Regions from separate parts of the Homo sapiens genome. Here regions 2 and 3 are each linked to region 1. The links are contacts of gene promoters, found by promoter capture Hi-C in human tissues and cell types (Jung and others, 2019). All regions are on one chromosome and are shown on one strand. The core of a region is centred on a gene start or on the middle of the fragment in contact, and the rest is flanking DNA. Distances in the headings are between cores, read along the strand shown.

Region 1 (2,738 bases), core at 2-2,501:
CCGAGGCCCTCAATCCACCTTCAGGCCCCGCCCCATGGGCCCCTCACCGCTGGTTGGAAAGAGTGTTGGTGTTGGCTGGGGTGTCAATAAAGCTGTGCTTGGGGTCGCTGGCTTGTGTCTCTGTGTCTGCCTCTCACAATTCTGGAATCCCTGGCCCTCTCTTTACCCCACTACAGCTCACTCACAGCATTTCTCCTTTCCTGTGGATACCTTTAGTCCTTCCTGTGACAGCCAGGCAGAAGCTTCAAGCCATCAAGCCTCACAGAGCTGCCCACCAGGAGTTGGGAGTGGGAAGGGGAGACACTGAGATCATGGCCTTAATCTGAAGTTGTGACCTTGTTTCTAACACTGATCTTTGGACACAAAGGGAGGGGAAGGATTAATAGTTAATCCCAGCAGGAACCCAGCAAAGAGGAACTCTCAAAGCACATACCCTTCTGTTACTTCCTACTAAAAAAAGAAGGAAATTATTACTAATATATGAGCTCATCCCATGGCCCTGAACCATGTGATTTTACCTGGACAACCTCATTTTGAGCTTACGATAACCTTGTGATATAGGGATTTTTACCCCTATTTTTCAGAGGAGGAAACTGGCTTAAAATTTGGGGTCACTTGCCTGAAATTATATAGCTGGTAAATGACAGAGGGAGGTTTGCATCCGGTTCTTCCATATGTGACAATACCTGGTATTCCCTAGGTGCTGAATACGTGTTTGTTTAGTCTCCTTTCTGCCTACATGCTCACCCAAGCAGGTGTCAGGAAGCGGCCCTGTCAGTTCAGGGGCCCTGACACTCAGCCTTTCCTGGAGGGGCCCCAGTTCCGTGAGTAGCACAGTGCCAACCCCATCAGAATATTACCACATGTGTCAATCACACACCTTGTGGTGAAAGCGAGCTGAACGCACTGATACATGAAGACATTTCTGACTCCTCCCTGACCTTCAGCCTGCTGGGAGAGAGACTGGAAGGCCAGCCATGCTAGGTGACAAGCTTCTGAGAGGCAAAGTTCCCCTCCCCAAGATGTACCCAGCCACTATTCCTGTGTGTGTGTGGCGGGGTGGATAGCACCCTTGGAGCTGGGCATCTGGATGGTGGTTGGGGTGTTAGGGGGATGTGGCGATCCCTGCGACAGACAGCAGAGTGAGGTCTGAATCTGAGAAGCTCTGCCTCCAGATCAGATAACCTATCGCACTCCCAGAGGCCCCCTCCTCCTGAAAGGACTTTAGTCTTTGGAGCTGTCACCTGAGCTGAGTGGGACAAGAGCTCTACAGGGCAGGCCACACTGCGAAGGAAGGAGGCAACACGGGCAAGGGCTGCCTGCTGCCCGCTGGAGACCGCACCATGGAGCCAGGCGGGGCCCGTCTGCGTCTGCAGAGGACAGAAGGGCTGGGAGGGGAGCGGGAGCGCCAACCCTGTGGAGATGGTGAGCCGCCCTCGGGGGTGCAGAAGGCACAGGCAAGTGGGGGGGAGGCGGGGAGAGATGCGCTATGGAGAGAAGGCTCCAACTGCCTGATGCCAATCCTTCCTGCTGTCCAGAGAGGCCAAGGAAGGTAGACCCTGGCCTCAGCCCAGAGCCACCCAGCTGGAAGATGGAACAGAAAAGAGCTATGTCAGAGCTGTGGCCTGGCCTTATCCTTCTGACTGTTTAGCCCCAGATAGTGAATGGAGTAGCTTCCCATTCCCTGAGTGCCCTGTTCCCAGTAATGTCACCAGGCCCCCTGCTTGCCTATGGCCTCCTCACCACTGGCAACAGCAACTTCCCCTTCTAGTAGCCCCAACCATGATACTAGATATTGGCTGGTTGGGGTGAGGGCAGCTGCTGAGCACACAAAGCATTTCCTGACCACAGGATGCCTCTGGGTCTGCAGAACCCCAATTCCTCCTGTTGACTGTGCCTTTGATCCCTCCTCACAGGAAACACTGAGACGCACAGAGCCCCGGACTTGGTACAATGGACCCGACACATGGAGGTGAGGGATGTCAGAGGTCAGAGGTCAAGTGGACAGATCCTTGGTAGCAGGAAGCAGGAGTGAGGCTTGGTGATAAAGATGACTTTTTTTTTTTTTTTTTTTTGAAACAAAGTCTCGCTCTGTTGCTCAGGCTGGAGTGCATTGGCACAATCTCGGCTCACTGCAACCTCTGCCTCCCAGGTTCAAGCGAGTAGCTGAACTACAGATGAGTGCCACCAGGTGTGGCTAATTTTTTTTTTATATTTTTAGTAGAGACGGGGTTTCACCATATTGGCCAGGCTGGTCTTGAACTCCTGACCTCAAGTGATCTACCCGCCTCGGCCTCCCAAAGTGCTGGGATTACAGGTGTGAGCCACGGTGCCCAGCCTGATGACTTGTTCCTGAGTGCAAAGATCGGATTCGAATTAAGGATGGAGATGGAGGGGTTTGAAGCACAGGTCCCAAAGGTCACCAAAAGTCAGCCAGTAGATAGAGTCTTCCTGCTAGTGCGGCTGGAGGCCAGGGGTGAGGAGTGACAATCGGAGGTGACCAGGCTGGAATTCAGACCCAGGGAGGGGAAGCCTTGCTCCTGCTGTCACTCCCTGATCCTCGCTGCTGCCCCAGGAAGCCAGAAGGAGATCAACTCTGGGCAGGGATCATGGCTTGTTCATCTTTTTACCACAGCACTTAGCACTGCGGGGTCCTACCCCACCAGCAGACCCATCACCACCCCACCAATGCCTGCCCTTCCCCCCGCAGGCCTGCCACCACTGAACCCCCATCCCTG
Region 2 (2,700 bases), core at 121-2,620, 260 kb after region 1:
GCTTGAGGCAGGAGAATCGCTTGAACCCGGGAGGCGGAGGTTGCGGTGAGCCAAGATCATGCCACTGCACTCCAGCCTGGGCAACAAGAGCGAAACTCCGTCAAAAAAAAAAAAAAATTAGCTGTGTGTGGTGTCACCTGCCTATGGTCCCAGCTACTGGGGAGGCTGAGGCAGGAAGATCACTTGAGTCTGGGAGGTTGAGGCTGCAGTGAATCATGATTGCACCACTGCACTCCAGCCTGGGCGACAGAGCAAGACCGTCTCAAAAAAAGAAAGAAACATTTAACAGGGACTTACAAACAGAAGCCCTGTTTGTATCTCTGGCAGTGGTGAGACAAGACAGTGTATCCCTGTGCCATTAATCTCCAGATCCAGAATTTATATACCATAGGGAAGGAATGTGTAGGACAATTGAAGTCGACCTCTATGGGAAAGGCAAGAATGTTCTGTGAATCTGCCTAAGGGCAAGATTCATGGTCAAGGTGGTCTTGACCTAAGGGCAGGATTTATGATAAGTATATGCTCTTACCCAAAGATCAGTAGATAAAATAAAAATTTTAGAGGCATTCCTGGAGCTGGGGTTATTCAGAAGTCAACATAGCAGATTAACATCCAAGATGGAGTTGCTTCAGCCTCCATTCTGTAAAACTCTAGAAAAAAATAAATCTAGGGGCCAGGCACAGTGGCTCATGCCTATAATCCCAGCACTTTGGTAGGCCGAGGCGGGTGGATCATGATGTAAAGAGATTGAGACCATCCTGGACTCCATCTCAATTAAAAAAAAAAAAAAATTAGCTGAGCGTGGTGGCAGGCAACAAGAACAAAACTCCTGTCAAAAAACAAAACAAAACAACAACAACACCTGCAGCGTGTGTAGAATTTAAAAAAAGACAATCCATAGGGAGAAAATATTTGTCATATTTTAAACAAATAATTAATATCTAATACACATAACAAGCTTCTTTAAGTCAAACAATGCAATACAAAAATATAGCCTGAGCCAGGCGCGGTGGCTCACGCCTGTAATTCCAGCATTTTGGGAGGCCGAGGTCGGTTGATCACTTGAGGTTGGTAGTTCAAGACCAGCCTGACCAACATGGAGAAACCCTGTCTCTACTAAAAAATATAAAATTAGACGGGCATGGTGGCACATGCCTCTAATCCCAGATGCTCGGGAGGCTGAGGCAGGAGAATCACTTGAACCTGTGAGGCAGAGGTTGCTGAGCCGAGATTGCACCATTGCACTCCAGCCTGGGCAACAAGAGTGAAACTCCATCTCAAAAAAAAAAATGTAGGCTGAGCACAGACCCTGTCTCTACAAAAAATAAAAACAGTTGGCTGGGCACTCGCAGTGGCTCATGTCTGTAATCTCAGCACTTTGGGAGGCCAAGGCAGAAATATCATGAGTCCAGGAGTTTGAGTCCAGCTTGGGCAACGTATTGGGACTCCATCTCTAGAAAAAATTTTAAAAATTAGCTGGGTGTGGTAGTCTGCGCCTGTAGTCCCAGCTACTTAGGAAGTTGAGAGAGAAAGATCACTTGAGCCCAGGAGGTGGAGGCTGCAGTGAACCATGACTGTACCACTGCATTCCAGCCTGGATGACACCTAAGACCCTGTCTCAAAAATTTATTTTAAGGTTGGGCAAGGTGGCTTATGCCTATAATCCCAGCACGTTGGGAGGCCAAGGCAGGAGGATCCCTTCAGCCCAGGAGTTCAAAACCAGCCTGGAAAACATAGTGGGACCTTTTCTCTACAAAAAAAAAAAAATTAGCCTGGTATGGTGACAGGCACCCATGGTCCCAGCTACTTGGGAGGCTGAGGCAAGAGGATTGCTTGAGCCCAGGAGGTGGAGGCTGCAATGAGCTGAGATCCCGTGACTGCACTCCAGGCTGGGTGACAGTGAGACCGTATCTCAAAAACAAAAACAAACAAATTATTTATTTTTGTTTGTTTTTGTTTTTATTTATTTTTTGTTTTGTTTCTGTTTTAAGACAAAAGCCCTGTCGCCCATGCTAAAGTACAGTGGTACAATCTGGGCTCACTGCAACCTCTGTCTCCCAAATTCAAGCGACCCTCCCACATCAGCCTCTGGAGTGGCTTGGGACTTCAGGTGTGCAGCACCATGCCCAGTTAAAAAAAAAAATTTCTTTTTAATAAAAATAAAAATATGGCCGGGCTCAGTGGCTCATGTTTGTAAGCATAGCACTTTGGAAGGCCAAGGCAGGTGGAATGATTGAGCCCAGGAGTTCAAGACCAGCCTGGTAACATGGCAAAACCTCTTCTCTACAAAAAATACCGATGATTGAGCCACTGCACTCCAGCCTGGGCGACAGAGTGAGACCCTGTCACAGAAATAACTGAAATTCACGCCTGTAATCCCAGCACTTTGGGAGGTCGAGGCGGGCGGATCATGAGGTCAAGAGATCAAGATCATCCTGGCCAACATGGTGAAACCCCGTCTCTCCTAAAAATACAAAAATTAGCTGGGCATGGTGGTGCACGCCTGTAATCCCAGCTACTTGGGAGGCTGAGGCAGGAGAATTGCTTGAACCCGGGAGGTGGAGATTGCAGTGAGCCAAGATCATGCCACTACATTCCAACCTGGTGACAGAGCAAGACTCTGTTTCAAAAAGAAAAAAAAAAAGAAAAGAATTTGTTGGGCACGGGGGCTCATGCCTATAATCCCAGCACTTTGGGAGG
Region 3 (2,755 bases), core at 108-2,607, 390 kb after region 1:
CAAGTGTTGATGGTGCTTCTGCCTCACATTGGGTGAGGGGACAGAATGATCTCTAAGCCATACATGTGCCAGGGGAGGAGGCTCTTTGGACACCCAACAGGCCCTAATTCAGTGCTTTGCTGGTGGCCCCAAAGTGACTCCATAAGGAGGCTACAGGGTAGAGTGGGGTAGGAAGTCACCCCCCATCTATCCCACCTTCTAGGTTCTCTGGCCTGAGATTTTGGAAGCCTGTGGCAGGTAAACTCTCTGAATTCTCTCTAGCTCCTTCTTGTATAACAGCAGAATGTCAATGCTAAGCTGTTTGGTGGTCTTAGGGGCTCAGTTCAGAGGCCAGGTCATCTGCCTAAATCTTGGGCTCTCACACTGAGTGCTCTCCACTGTCTGAGACCTCATTTTTTTACTCAGGAAAAGGAGAATGATTCCCTTTCTCTCGTGAGTGGGGGTAGGAAGGGGAGTCTTCAAAGGGAAAGGAGACCCAAGACTTTGGAGTCCTAATTCCACCTCTGCAAGCTTTGAAACCCTGAGAGGATAAAGGTCTCTGATCAATCGTGGCCATGCCTCCTGTCCCCTTGGCTGCAGCTCGTATTGTTTTTGAAACAGGGTCTCGCTTTGTTGCCCAGGCTGGAGTGCAGTGGGATGATCACGGCTCACTGCCTGCAGCCTCAACCTCCTGGGCTCAAGTGATCCTCCCCCTTCAGCCTCCTGAGTAGCTGGGACTACAGGCACTCACCACCACACCAGACTAAATTAAAAAAAGGCCGAGCACAGTGGCTCACGTCTGTAGTCCCAGCACTTTGGGAGGCCCAGGCGGGCGGATCATGAGGTCAGGAGATGGAGACCATCCTGGCTACCATGGGGAAACCCCGTCTCTACTAAAAATACAAAAAATTAGCTGGGCGTGGTGGCGGACGCCTGTAGTCCCAGCTACTCGGGAGGCTGAGGCAGGAGAATGGCGTGAACCCAGGGGGCGGAGCCTGCAGTGAGCCGAGATGGAGCCACTGCACTCCAGCCTAGGCGACAGAGCAATACTCTGTCTCCAAAAAAAAAAAAAAAAAAAAAAAAAAAAGGCCAGGCGCAGTTGCTCACGCCTGTAATCCCAGCAATGGAGACCATCCTGGCTAACATGGTGAAACCCCGTTTCTACCAAAAATACAAAAAATTTGCCAGGCGTAGTGGTGGGCGCACCTGTAGTCCGCCGCCACTGCACTCTAGCCTGGGCAACAGAGCGAGACTCCATCTCAAAAAAAAAAAAAAAAAAAAAAAAAAATTGTAGAGACCATGTCTCATTCTGTTGCCCAGGCTGGTTCCAAACTCCTGGGCTCAAATGATCCACCAGTCTAGGTCTCCCAAAATGCTGGCATTACAGGTGTGAACCACTGTGCCCTGCAGCTTGTTTTTATTTTCCATTTTTCAGGATCCGCAGTCCTGGCCCCAGGATCCCAAGAGGAAAAGAACTATTGCTTTTCTTAGTGCCCTCATGAGGGAGAAATGAGTTCCCCTGAGAACTTGGGGGAAAACTGGAGATCACCCCTAAATTCGGGTCTTTGATTGGTAAATCAAGCCCTGAGACCCCTAGCTGCCACACTTCCAGTGGGGTGGGCAGTGAAGGGGTTCAGGGAAGGGAGGGACAGTACTATTTAGGAAAAAAGAATCAGCTTCAGATTTGGAGAGATCAGAGCTAGAATCCCAGTTTTGCCACCACTTAGTTTAAGGAATGTAATCTCTCTGTGGTGCCCAACCCACCCTGCTGGGGGTAGTGAAGGTTAAGTAGGGTGATAGAGGGGGTGCAGGGAGCAGCATGTTTCCTCCTTGCTTTGTCTTCCTGGTTGGCTGGACACCAGGTCTTTGTGGATCCTGGAGAGGCTGAAGACTTGGTCTCTGACCTTCTGCTTTCCCAGGATAAACTGTGATTTCAGGTTCCAGTAGAACCAGGTCACAGTGCTAGTGATTGTGCTGGAGTCCCCAGTCATTCCTCTACCAGATCACCAGTCCCTCCTCTGTAAATCCTGCCATTCTGTCTCCTCTGGACTAAGGGGGATGGCCTGATTTTCTGCACCCCATCCTCACTCCCTGGCCAGTTGTCTCTGGAATCTGCTCTCTTAAGCAGCTGTACTGCTAAGATCCTCCCTTTGATCACGTGGCCCTGGATCACCCCTCAGCCTTACCCATGGAGGCCTCGGGGAAGGGGAGGGCAAGAGCAGGGTAGGATGGGCCTCAGGAGTCCCTCCTACCTAGGACCTCAGATAGACCAGGAAGAAGTTCAGCGGATGTTAACAAATATAGTTCCTCAACGGGATGGGCATTTTTAAAAATCTGGAAGAATAAATACCAAAGTATAACAACAGTTTCTAGGTAGGTGGAATTGTGAGTGTTTTAATTTTCTCCTTTGGGTTTACGTATATTCCTAGTATTTCAGTAACAACTTTGAATTGCTTTTAAAGTAAGACATAAAATTTAAATTGTAAAAGAGAAAATAAGATTGATGGACTGCTCATGCATTCCTTCACTTAGCTTATTAGGACAGTTGTGCAATAGGGAGAGGGTAGGTGGTAGAGGAGAGAACACAGGCCTCAAAATCAGAGTGGCTTCCTGAGGTCTTGTCTCTGCTCCTGGCCAGTTGGGTGACCTGGCCTGAGACTTTTCAACAAACCTCAGTTTCTTCATTGCTAAACGGGGACAGTGGTACCTATGTCCCACAGTGGCAATGCAGTACATAATGTGGTGGGTAAGAACACAGGTTCTGGGTTACACAGAC

Evidence for each region. The method cuts DNA at HindIII sites, captures the fragments that hold promoters and counts their contacts. A contact is called where the count stands out against the background at its distance.
Region 2: a contact is called between a fragment that was not itself captured here and the fragment with the promoter of SOAT2 in region 1, in 2 of the 25 tissues and cell types used here (bladder and neural progenitor cells).
Region 3: a fragment that was not itself captured here is called in contact with the fragment with the promoter of SOAT2 in region 1 in 1 of the 25 tissues and cell types used here (stomach).

The regions. Positions count from the first base shown.
Region 1 is chr12:53,102,235-53,104,972 of GRCh38, forward strand. SOAT2 (sterol O-acyltransferase 2) reads left to right here and starts at 1,252. Exons shown (of 15, transcript NM_003578.4): 1 at 1,252-1,425; 2 at 1,917-1,972. The coding sequence starts at 1,344. It overlaps IGFBP6 (insulin like growth factor binding protein 6), which reads left to right. Exons shown (of 4, transcript NM_002178.3): 4 at 1-106. RefSeq lists an enhancer at 834-1,362. The HindIII fragment of the contact is 25,360 bases long and covers 618-2,738 here.
Region 2 is chr12:53,358,580-53,361,279 of GRCh38, forward strand. No RefSeq gene overlaps it. Among named protein-coding and RNA genes, the nearest start is that of SP1, 20 kb to the right of the region's middle. The HindIII fragment of the contact is 4,324 bases long and covers 1-2,700 here.
Region 3 is chr12:53,494,302-53,497,056 of GRCh38, forward strand. All of the region lies in intron 1 of MAP3K12 (mitogen-activated protein kinase kinase kinase 12), which reads right to left. Among named protein-coding and RNA genes, the nearest start is that of MAP3K12, 3.8 kb to the right of the region's middle. RefSeq lists a silencer at 2,004-2,298. The HindIII fragment of the contact is 4,391 bases long and covers 1-2,755 here.